Regions from separate parts of the Homo sapiens genome. Here region 1 is linked to region 2. Evidence: promoter capture Hi-C in 16 types of primary human blood cells and fetal thymus (Javierre and others, 2016). All regions are on one chromosome and are shown on one strand. The core of a region is centred on a gene start or on the middle of the fragment in contact, and the rest is flanking DNA. Distances in the headings are between cores, read along the strand shown. Region 1 overlaps SLC6A2 (solute carrier family 6 member 2). Region 2 holds the start of LPCAT2 (lysophosphatidylcholine acyltransferase 2).

Region 1 (5,179 bases), core at 363-2,862, 160 kb before region 2:
GCATGTCAACGCACTCACACAACCACATGAGAAAAAGAACTGTCGACCATGAAAGAAACTCTGAACAGTGGCCTTTGGATGAATTTAGTAAGAAAAGCATTAGTCCCATCACCTCTGGCCCAACCACACTGCCTCCCATCCCACTGTTAGAGAGAAACTCTTCTGGGTACAGAAGGGCTCTGGAAGCCTCTGTGCAAATGCCAAGTACCCAGGAAGGGAAGCCCGGGGTCATTAGGTTTAGAGTGGGATGTGCTGGAGCAGCCCCCAGCAGGTGAGGAGGACCCCAGGTAGAGGGCTGGAAAGCCTGGAGGAAGGGTTCAGTGAGGGGTGCAGTGGCCAAGACCTGCTGAGGATCTCGGGGGAGGTGGAGGTAGTGTGGTCAAAGAGGAGCTTCAGGAAGGAGAGAGGCTCCCCTGACACCTAGTTTGTTGAGGACAGGATTCCTCGAACTGTGAATTCTGGCCACACCTTGATATATGCAAGAAGTGCCAATCCACAGAATAGTTCCCTTGATACACACAGCTCAGCTACAGGCTGTCGCTGCTGGTGTCATGCACCAGAGCCCCCAAGAAAACCTTGGTCCACACTTAGGGAAGCTAGATTTGTCCCCCTTCCCCAACACCCCAAGGGTGCCCTAACAGCACAGTAGGCATCAGGAGAAGGTGAAACTTTAGTCAGGAGACAAGGCTGCTCACACTTCGACACATTTAAAGGTGACAAATCAACAACTGTTAAATAAAACATGTTCTGTCTTCCTACTTTGACAAAGAGACCTTTGTAGTAGTTCTATTATAAAGTTCAAGGTTGGAATTCTCAGCTCTTGGAGCTCCAGGCTGGAATGTGGAGGTACAGGGGAAGACCCGTTTGCCCTGCCCCTACTTCCTCCCAGCTCAATCTAGCCATGTCAGGGCTCTTGCACATAGGTGTCCAAGCTATGTCCACCCGCCTTGCAGACACCCCCACCTCCCGCAGCACAGCCCACACCACAAAAGAGGGAACCCAGCAAGATGTTCATGTAGACCCAGAAGGGTGCCTGAGGCTGTTTGGGCAGGGAATTCCACCGTCCGGGTATTGGAGGGTGGTGGGGTATTCGTATGGGGAGTGTGCTGGGTGGGCAGGCACACTTGGCTCCCATGAGATGGAAAGGGGGCAGAGTTGTGCTCTCTGAAGCATGGAGGTAGGGCAGGCCTTCATGCCTGGACCTAAAGATAATCCTGTCCCTCAGCCCTGCTATGTGTAGCTATGTGACTTGTCTAAATGTGCCTTCTCTGAGCCTTAGCTCCCCCTTTGTAAATGCGATAATAATACCTGTGTCACTGGTTTGCTGTGATAATCAGAGATGACAGAGGTGAAGTGCCAGGCACTTAGTGGGTGCTCCGTAAATGGGACCCATGTCTTGTCATTATACTCAAGAGCAGATGTGCAGCAGCTCTGTCCACTGGAAACAGGAAGTAAAGGCTGTCTTGTGTGGTGGAGGGTGGCTGGGCCCTTTGTGGAGCACAGCATGAACGCCAGCTGGAGGCCACACACAGGACTCTGCGGCAGTGCTCTGGGATCCCCAAGTCCCTGTCCCAAGTGGGGCTGGCTACTCTACTCTTGTGTGCAAACAAGAGTGCTGACCATGAGCAAATGCAGGACAAAGGATGCCCCCAGGCCACAGCCAGCCCCATTACCTAGAAAGAATGCCCTGTAGTGCTGCATGAAGGATGGCATGAAGGTAGTGGGAGGGGGATGCATGCAGTGAAGAGATTTAGGGAATGGAAGCACCGGCCAGAGCGGGGGACAGGATACGCCAGGCCAAACCTTAGCTGACCCTAGAAGAGTTCTGAAGCTGAGATGGCCCCTCAGACATTTCCTACTCAGGAACCTCCACGTGTTTGCCTCTCCTGAAGCTCCTGAACCCTGTCCTCTTGGGCCTTCTATGGAGATGTCATTGGATAGGCATGTTTGGCCACCATGATTGAATGGAGTATGATGTAATACTAATAAGCTGAGTGGGAAAGCCCAGCAAGGCCTGTCTGTTCAGATTCTTCTCGGTCTCCCTGTGCAGCATTCCTTCCCCCAGGGCCTGGGGCAGGACTCCTTCTGAAATGGGGGTTTTATGACTCACAATTAGAAAGTGGGTCAGAGAATTTTGTTACTGCCAGCTCCAAGAAAGAAAAGCCAGGGAAAAATCCTACCTTGGAGAGATAAGGGAGCAGATGGAAGGAGGGCAGGAGAAGGTCAAAGAGAGAGAGGTTCTGTTTTCTGAGGCCTAACGTGCCCCAATGTTACAACAAGGGCTATTGGTATTTTGAGCCAGGAACAATAGAACAATAGATAGACAGATGGATAGATAGATAGACAGATAGGTTTCATAGTAGTACACAGAGCTATGGTAAGACCTCAGCTGGAGGGACCCAAGGTGAAGGTGAGGGAGTGCCTTGGTCTGTTTAGCATTGCTATAACAGAATACCTGAGGCTAGGGAATCTATAAAGAAAAGAGGTTTATATGTCTCATGATTCTGGTGACTGGAAAGTTCAAGGTTGGGCAGCTGTATCTGGTGGGGGCCTCTGGCTGCTTCCACTCATGGCAGAAAAGGAAAGGGGATCAGGGGTACAGAGATCACATGGCAAGAGGGGAACCAAGAGAGTGGCGTGAGAACTCACTTACCCTCTCCAAAGGACATTAATCCATTTATAAGGGATCCACTCTCATGACCCAAACACCTCTCACTAGGCCCCTCCTCCCAACACTCCCACACTGGGGTTCAAACTTCAACAGGAGTTTTAGTGGAGACAAACAAACCATATCTAAACCATAGCAGAAAATGTAATAAAGTGTTCCTCTGAGTTCTGTGAGCCACTCTAGCAAATTAATCAAACCCAAGCAAGGGGTGGGGGGAACCCTGATTTATAGACAGTGGGTCAGAAGCACAGTAAAACAACCTGGGGCTCATTATAGGAACACAAAGTGAGGGGCATTCTTGTGGGAATGCCTCAACCTGTGGGATCTGATGCTATCTCCAGGTAGACAGCACCAGAATTGAATTGAATCGGAGGCACTCAGCTGGTGTCTGCTGCAGACTTGATTACTTGCCTGATGTGCTGGGAGAAACCCCCAAACATGTGGTCACAGACGTCTTCTGTGTTGATTGTTGTTGTTGAGTGAAAGACCTGGAAACAGGCCCACTGAGGGAACACACCCACTCCCCTGATGGATTAAACCCAGCTGCTCTAAGTAGAAAAATGGGGGTGGAATTCAGGGAAACTGGCGCCGGGCTACCCCTCCTCATGTGGTAATTCTCCATCTGCTCGTCACTTTGGAGGATCTGGACTTGATTTTTCCTAATAAAGCTGTGGCTTTAGTAAAATCTCTGTGAAGATTCTGGTTTCCATTTCCTCCATCTTAGTCTCTTTAAGAGAAACACATCAGAGGGTTGCTCAGAACTACATCACAGAGGGAAATATGACCCACAAATAACAGAGCAGGACCTCACCTCCCCCATTTGGGATTAATACCTCCAATATTGGAATCAAAAATGACAAACTTTTAGGAGATCTGCAGCATATCATGAGCCCCTTAAAGGCAAGGATTTTCTTTTGCTCATCTCCATATTCCTGGCATATGATAGGCATTTAGTAAATTTTTTTTGGCTAAATAATGGATCTCAGCAGTGACTCACATGAAGGATGCAGCTAATGAAAGCCCTGGGGCCTTTCTCCACTTGTGCTGTGGCCTAATCCTTACTTAGGCAGTTAGGTTTGGGACTGCAGGGCAGGATATAACATTTATCCCTATTAAATCCCAATCTTGTCAGGAACAGCCCCTTTCAGATCCTTTTGACAAGCTTGGAGTAACAAGCCAAACCATGCCAGTGACCTCAGATCAGGGTCCCAGATGAGCACCACATTTCTGCCAAGGGATGTACAGACTTGTCAGCTGAGTGCCACACCAGCTGGCTGGCTCATTGTGCATCTGAGCTGACAATCAGTGTCTGGCTTGGCAAGCCCAGGGTGTAGATAGCCCCCTGCAGCCAGGCCAGATATAAGAGCACTGAGTTTGCAGACTCCTGACCTCTGTAGCAGCTACTGCTTCATACTCAGTATTAAGGATCCCAGATATTTTGGCCACAAGGGCTCCCAAAGGGCTGGGGGTCCCTAAGACTCTGAGCTTCCTTGGGGAGAGGAGAGAGTCCACTGGGGACGCAGAATCACAGAAGGTCATGGGACCCCATGCAGGAATTATAAACCCCATTTACCAGGTGATGAATCTATTTTGAGATAAGGTTAGGCTGTTAGGAAATGGAGCAAAGCCCATCCCCTGATTCCTGAGTCTATCATGCTTGGGCTCCAGACCCAAGTGGGACTATTTTCCAGCCTTATTTCCTTTTATCAATTTCATCTTAGGATGAATTCTGCTACTTCCAAAATCAGGATCCTGCCCCACTCCTAAGTCTAGCATGCAGTTAATATCATTGAACAATAACAAAATACTAATGACTACATTTATGGAGCCCCTATTATGTGACATCATTTCAAGGAGTTTACATATATTGTCTCTGATGCCATCTCACCCTGCAAGAAGGTGCTGTGGTTATTCTCCTCTTCTGTGTAAGGAAACTGAAGCTCAGATCAGCAAAGGTGAGTGATTTGTCTATCGTTACCTTTCTAGCAAAAGTTAGACTCAGACCCTGAACCTAAAGACTATATTTCTCTACAATGCACAGCTCTAAGCTGGCCTCAGGACAGGACTCAAACAGAAGCAGCCATGTGCAAAGGTTAATTCACAGTGGCCACTTCCCTGGAAGAAAGGCAAAAATGAGCACCCAGTCAATCTTCCTGCTCTTCCCCAGGGATCAGCACAGACCAGGATCACAGGTGCAAAGGGAAACTCTAGAATCACTGCCTGATACTGCCTCCTCATGGAGACCAGCTATTTGAGAAGGTTCTGAACAAAGCTCCGGAATTTCTGAGAGTGGCTTTCCCCTCCCAGAGCCTCCTGCAGCCCGTGCATCCCAGCAGCTGGCCATGGGGAAGATGTTCAGACAGGCTGATCTTTTCCAGTAATTCATTCAGAAAACATTAGCCAGGGGCCTAAACCATTGCCACCTTCATCATTTCAAAATATCCTCCATTCTGGGCCAGCATGAACAGTCAGAATTGCAGAGGTTACAGTGTTAATACTGGCACCAGAAGA
Region 2 (5,039 bases), core at 748-3,247:
ACTTGGCCAAAGTCATACAACTAATAAATGACCAGTTCCTATAACTGACTAGCTATCATTCCATTATACTATAACTCTCAGAGAGTTATTTGGAAGAGATCTTTAAACAGTAACAAACCAGGTGATGGAAAAACTTAATAATTTATTATAGGTGCAATATAAATATTTGTCAACATTCCATGCTGTTTCTTTCCAAAATATGAAGTCAAATAGATGGGCATATTTTCATTTAAGTATGATTTAATTAAATCAGACTAAATTTAATCTTGAACAATGGTCTATGTATTTACAAATGTTTCAGAATGTGAAGACACAAAAAGAATATCTATTAATTTAAAGACATGAGGATCACATTTTTAAACGTTTAATTTCCTCACAAAGCAGTATTACTACATTCTTTATCTTCTTCCTCTCTCACACCCCTCTTCAACCAGACACCCATCTACCATTACTCAAGCCACCACCTGTGTTGTTTAGCTCTGCACTTAACCTTCCCCCACTGTAGAGGACAATGGTCTTAGTGCATACAAGCTGATTGCAAATATTATACTGCTTCAAATCCAAAGTAATGTGTGAGATGGACATGAAAACTTCAAAATTGTTCCCCCACCCCCCCAACCCCCGCAGAACACACGGACAAATGTGGTTAGCAGGGTCTATCTTGTTCTCTGATCACTAACTTCAACAAAGAGGAAGTCCAAAGAGTGCAACTGCCAATGGTAAAAGGAACCCTTTACAAGAAAAAGGAAAGGAAAGGAAACTTCCTTTGTGCATAACAGTATAGCCATTTTTAACAATGGAAAACAGCCTGGGCTACTACTTCTCATGCTTCAACTTAGGAAACGTTTTTAGGTGAAGACTGATTCTGGACCAAAACTTCTTGAACATCCTAAGCTGACTCAGTTGTCCCTTTTCTTTGATTCTGACTTCCCACCCTCCATCATGCTCCTGCTCAGCTAAATCTTTCCAGCCTTACCTGTTGTTCTAACCACAGACCTAGGCTCTCTGCCTTCTGCCTCACTCTTATCCATCCCATACTGACTCCTCTCCTTCCTAAGGCAAAAAAAAAAAAAAAAAGACTTCTTCAAATCTACTCTCCCGTAGTAGATCTGCCTCCCACTACACTCTCATAAACTCAAGTTGAAGCTTCTGTCACAGATTCACAGATTCCTTCAACCTTCTGGGGCATGGAATGTAGCCTGCGCCACCAGCCAGCTCAGTCTCTTCCTGTTTTGGATTCTCCTCTCAGGCCCGCATCTTCCCAGCATCTTCTCTCCTCCCGTGCCCGCTCAGACCATCCTCTAAATGTCCTCAATTCTCAGACACACATCTCCGCCCCTTTCAGGCTCACGGCCCCTCAGAAGTCCTCTCCTCTCAGATCCACTGCTCTTTCTTCCTCTGATGCCTTTGCTTCCCAGACCCACAACGCCCCTCAGACCCACGCGCCCCTCGACCGCCCTCCCCCGTCAGACCTACACCAGTCACCTGGACCCGCCCCAGACCCTGGCTCCCCTCGGGCCACCTCCCTCCTCAGACCCATGCCCCCTTCAGGCCACCTCCCTCCTCAGACTCTCGCCCGCCTCGGACCACCTCACTCCCTCAGACCCACGCCCCCCTCGGCCGCCCTCCTCTCTCAGACCCACACCCCTTACCTGGACCCCCCTCTGACCTAGGCCCCCCTCAGACCACCTCTCCCCTCAGACCCACGCCCCTCACCTGGACCCGCCTCGCGGAGCCGATCTGCGTCTGCTGCACGAAGGGGTTCGGCACCGGCGGCGGGAAGAAGGACGCCTGACGGGGCACCATGGGCGGCCGCAGCCCCACGTTCCCGACGCCGGCACCTGGCACTGTGGCCGCCACTTCCGCCGCCTGGGCGCACCGGCTCATAGTTGAGCCGGGCGTAGAACCCGGCCGAAGCGATCTACGCGGGCGCTGCAGCCAAAACTGAGCCGAAGACCTACTAGAGTCCCAGCCTAGGGCGACGCTGGGGAGCCTCTGCGCAGGCGCTGAAGTTACTTAGACGCCTGCTGCTGCCGCCCTGCCCCTTCGGCTGTGACACGCCCCAGGCTCTGGCCACACCCCCTCAGGCATCTGGCTCCACCCCCTTGGTAATATAGTCCATCCCCTCGGAGGGGAATGTTTTCCTTCCGAGCCAAGACCCTGAAGGGTACCCCAGGATCCCTAACATTCCACAGCGAGACACTAGGCAGAGTTCCCTGCTTTAGGGTCGGACGGACCTGGATTTTCAATCCCTTTTACTGGGCCTGTGACGCTGGCCAAATCACTATCTCTATGAACCTCGGTTGCCTTCCGTAAAATGCAGATAAATGTATTCTCAGATAATCCTAACCTGGATCCAGTAATGCCATTGAGCAACCACTTCCCCTGGGCTGTTCCATTAAGTGAGCTAATATTAATACACCCATGATGGCACTAGGAGTGGAATTTGTTTCACTCAAAACATAATGGACTGACAGGGGAGAGATGGTTCTCCAGAGGAAAACTGAGCTACTATTACCAGAAAAGGCAAAAATTACAGTTGCCCTCCACGCTAGATGAGGAACCTGACCCAGAAAAGGGAAATGTATTGGGCTGTGGCTCCCTTTCACACTGAGGAAGTTCAAGCCTGTTTGGACCTATGTGGGTGCTCGTGGGGGTGGGAGGGCAGGGGTTTGTCCCATTATCTGAGGACAGTTGATCAACCCTGAGTGGCTGAGAGTTAAAGGAAGGAGATGATAATCAACTCATCCCAACTGATCAACTCTTCTCACAGCAGGTAGGAAGGCCAGGATGAAAATCTGAGTCTGAGCCCTGGGGTTCTCCAAAGTTACCCTCTGAATGTCAGAATCTTCCAGCCCTACCACATAGATGTGTGGCCTTGAGTCAGTCACTTAACCTGAGTTTGCTTCCTTGTCTAGGAATGGGAGATTCATTCTAACTCCATAGAATTGTAGCAAGGATTAAATAAAATAATGCATGTGTAGTGTTCATAGAGAAACACTGAAGAAATGGCATGTTTTAAGCATTATTATGTTGTGGAGCCACTGACTTTTCTCTCAGTGTAACAGGGAACATTAATAACAGTGCATTACAGCCATGATAGAAGATTCCCCAGTCTAGGGGGTCTTCAAGTTGGGACTGGCAGACCCTTGAGACTCTTTAGCCAGATACCTGCACAGAAAGATGTCTTTCCAACTGTCAACAACCTAAGCCAGGCCAGGTGCAGTGGCTCACGCCTGTAATCCTAGCACTTTGGGGGCTGAGGAGGGTGGATCCCTTGAGCCCAGGAGTTCGAGACCAGCCTGGGCAACAAAGAGAGACTCCACCATCTCTAAAAAAAATTAAAAATTAGCTGGCTGTGCTGTTGCATGCCTGCAGTCCCAGCTACTCAGGAGGCTGAAGTGGGAGGATTGCTTGAGCCCAGAAGATCAAGTCTGCAGTGAGCTATGATCATGCCATTGCACTCCAGCCTGGGTGACAGAGAAAGACACTGTCTCAAAAAAGAAAAAAAAAGAAGAAGAAGAAACAAAAAGAATCTGAGTCAAGGGGACAGGCCATGGGAGGATAAAAGATAGAAAAGATGGGGCCGAGAGTGGTGGCTCACACCAATAATCCTAGCACTTTGGGAGGCCGAGATGGGTGGATTGCCTGATCTCAGGAGTTCGAGACCAGCCTGGGCAACACGGTGATACCTGTCTCTACCAAAATACAAAACAAATTAGCTGGGTATGGTGGCGTGCACCTGTAATCCCAGCTACTTGGGAGGCTGAGGCAGGAGAATCACTTAAACCTGGGAGGCAGAGGTTACAGTGAGCCGAGATTGCGCCATTGCACTCCAGCCTGGGTGACAGAGTGAGACTCCATCTCAAAAACAGAAAAAAGAGATAGAAACAATGACATCAGGCTCACTGAGGAGGTCACCTGTAGAGTTCACTCCTTACGCACCTTCCTCACCAGCCCCATCATAAGAGGCCAGAAGCAATATATATACTATCAATCAGACTATCGGAGCCAGAAAGGGCCTCAGAAAAACCCCAGGCCTTCAATTTCTGTTCAGCAGTAGCTCCAGAATTTCTATGTAGGAGATTAGGAGTGGGTAGACTGGTAGGAAGGAGTAAGGAGCTTATCCATTAATACCAGCTGTGTTTAGAAGCAAGCACAGTATTTCTCCCTTAGCTGTGTTTACCCAGCGTGGTTTTGGGGGTGGTGGAGGGTAGCAGGAGCGGTTTTGAAGGTGGTGGGGGTGTTTTTGAGGGTGGCGGAGGGTGGTGAGATTCTGGTTTGAGAGCTAAAGCTCCTCTGCTAGGCTATCCTTTGGCCTTGTAGGTCCCTAATAGCTATGGGACCCTGGAAAAATCACTTCTCTTGAGCCATCAGTCTCTTCATCAATAAGATTCAACTAATAATGGCCTTTTTTATTTATGTGGTTGGAAAGGTTAAAATAGGTGACACGTGAAAAGTGCCTTGCACATAGAAAGCACTCTATTAATTGAGGGGGATATTATTGTTACTGTTCATTGTTAGTAGTAGCATTAAAACTGATATGATTGCTAATGAAGAAACAGACTTAAAGAGGAAGCAAACCTCGAACAGATGCCACAATAAAGCAACAAAATTGCTGATTCTTCAGGGCTCTTTCTACAGGACAGAGGGACTAGAGCTTACTCTCCCTGAGGTTCTCTTGCTGTTTACTTTGGAAGCTCTGACCTTTCCAGCAGACACCATCACCTGTGCCCTGCAGGGAGCAGAGATTCGGACTTTTTAAGTTTCCGCTTCTGGCTGGGTCTGTGGCCCTTGTCTAGGCTCTGCTAAAACAGATGGCAAACACGGCCACTCAGTAGGTGTCTTTATTCATACTTGTTGACATTTCCCATGGGGAATGGTTGAAGGGAGGGGCAGGGAGGGCTGAGCGGGAAGCCACGGCTTGGTTTTCCTCCATCCAGTGGAGAAGAGACTCGGTAGGGACATGCTAAGTAGAGTGAACAGGGGAACCATCACTATGTGGGCTGAGATGCACTGTGCAGTGACTTCAGACAACC

The links. Contacts are between HindIII fragments. The CHiCAGO score rates a contact against its expected background, and 5 or more counts as called.
Region 1: a contact is called between a fragment that was not itself captured here and the fragment with the promoter of LPCAT2 in region 2, in 1 of 17 cell types (monocytes). The highest score is 5.5, in monocytes.

Annotation. Positions count from the first base shown.
Region 1 is chr16:55,660,809-55,665,987 of GRCh38, reverse strand. The region is part of intron 2 of SLC6A2 (solute carrier family 6 member 2); the gene reads right to left. Among named protein-coding and RNA genes, the nearest start is that of SLC6A2, 7.4 kb to the right of the region's middle. The HindIII fragment of the contact is 4,440 bases long and covers 1-3,832 here.
Region 2 is chr16:55,506,030-55,511,068 of GRCh38, reverse strand. LPCAT2 (lysophosphatidylcholine acyltransferase 2) reads right to left here and starts at 1,997. Exons shown (of 14, transcript NM_017839.5): 1 at 1,717-1,997. The coding sequence starts at 1,887. MMP2 (matrix metallopeptidase 2) reads right to left here. Exons shown (of 13, transcript NM_004530.6): 13 at 4,378-5,039. The HindIII fragment of the contact is 4,685 bases long and covers 1,149-5,039 here.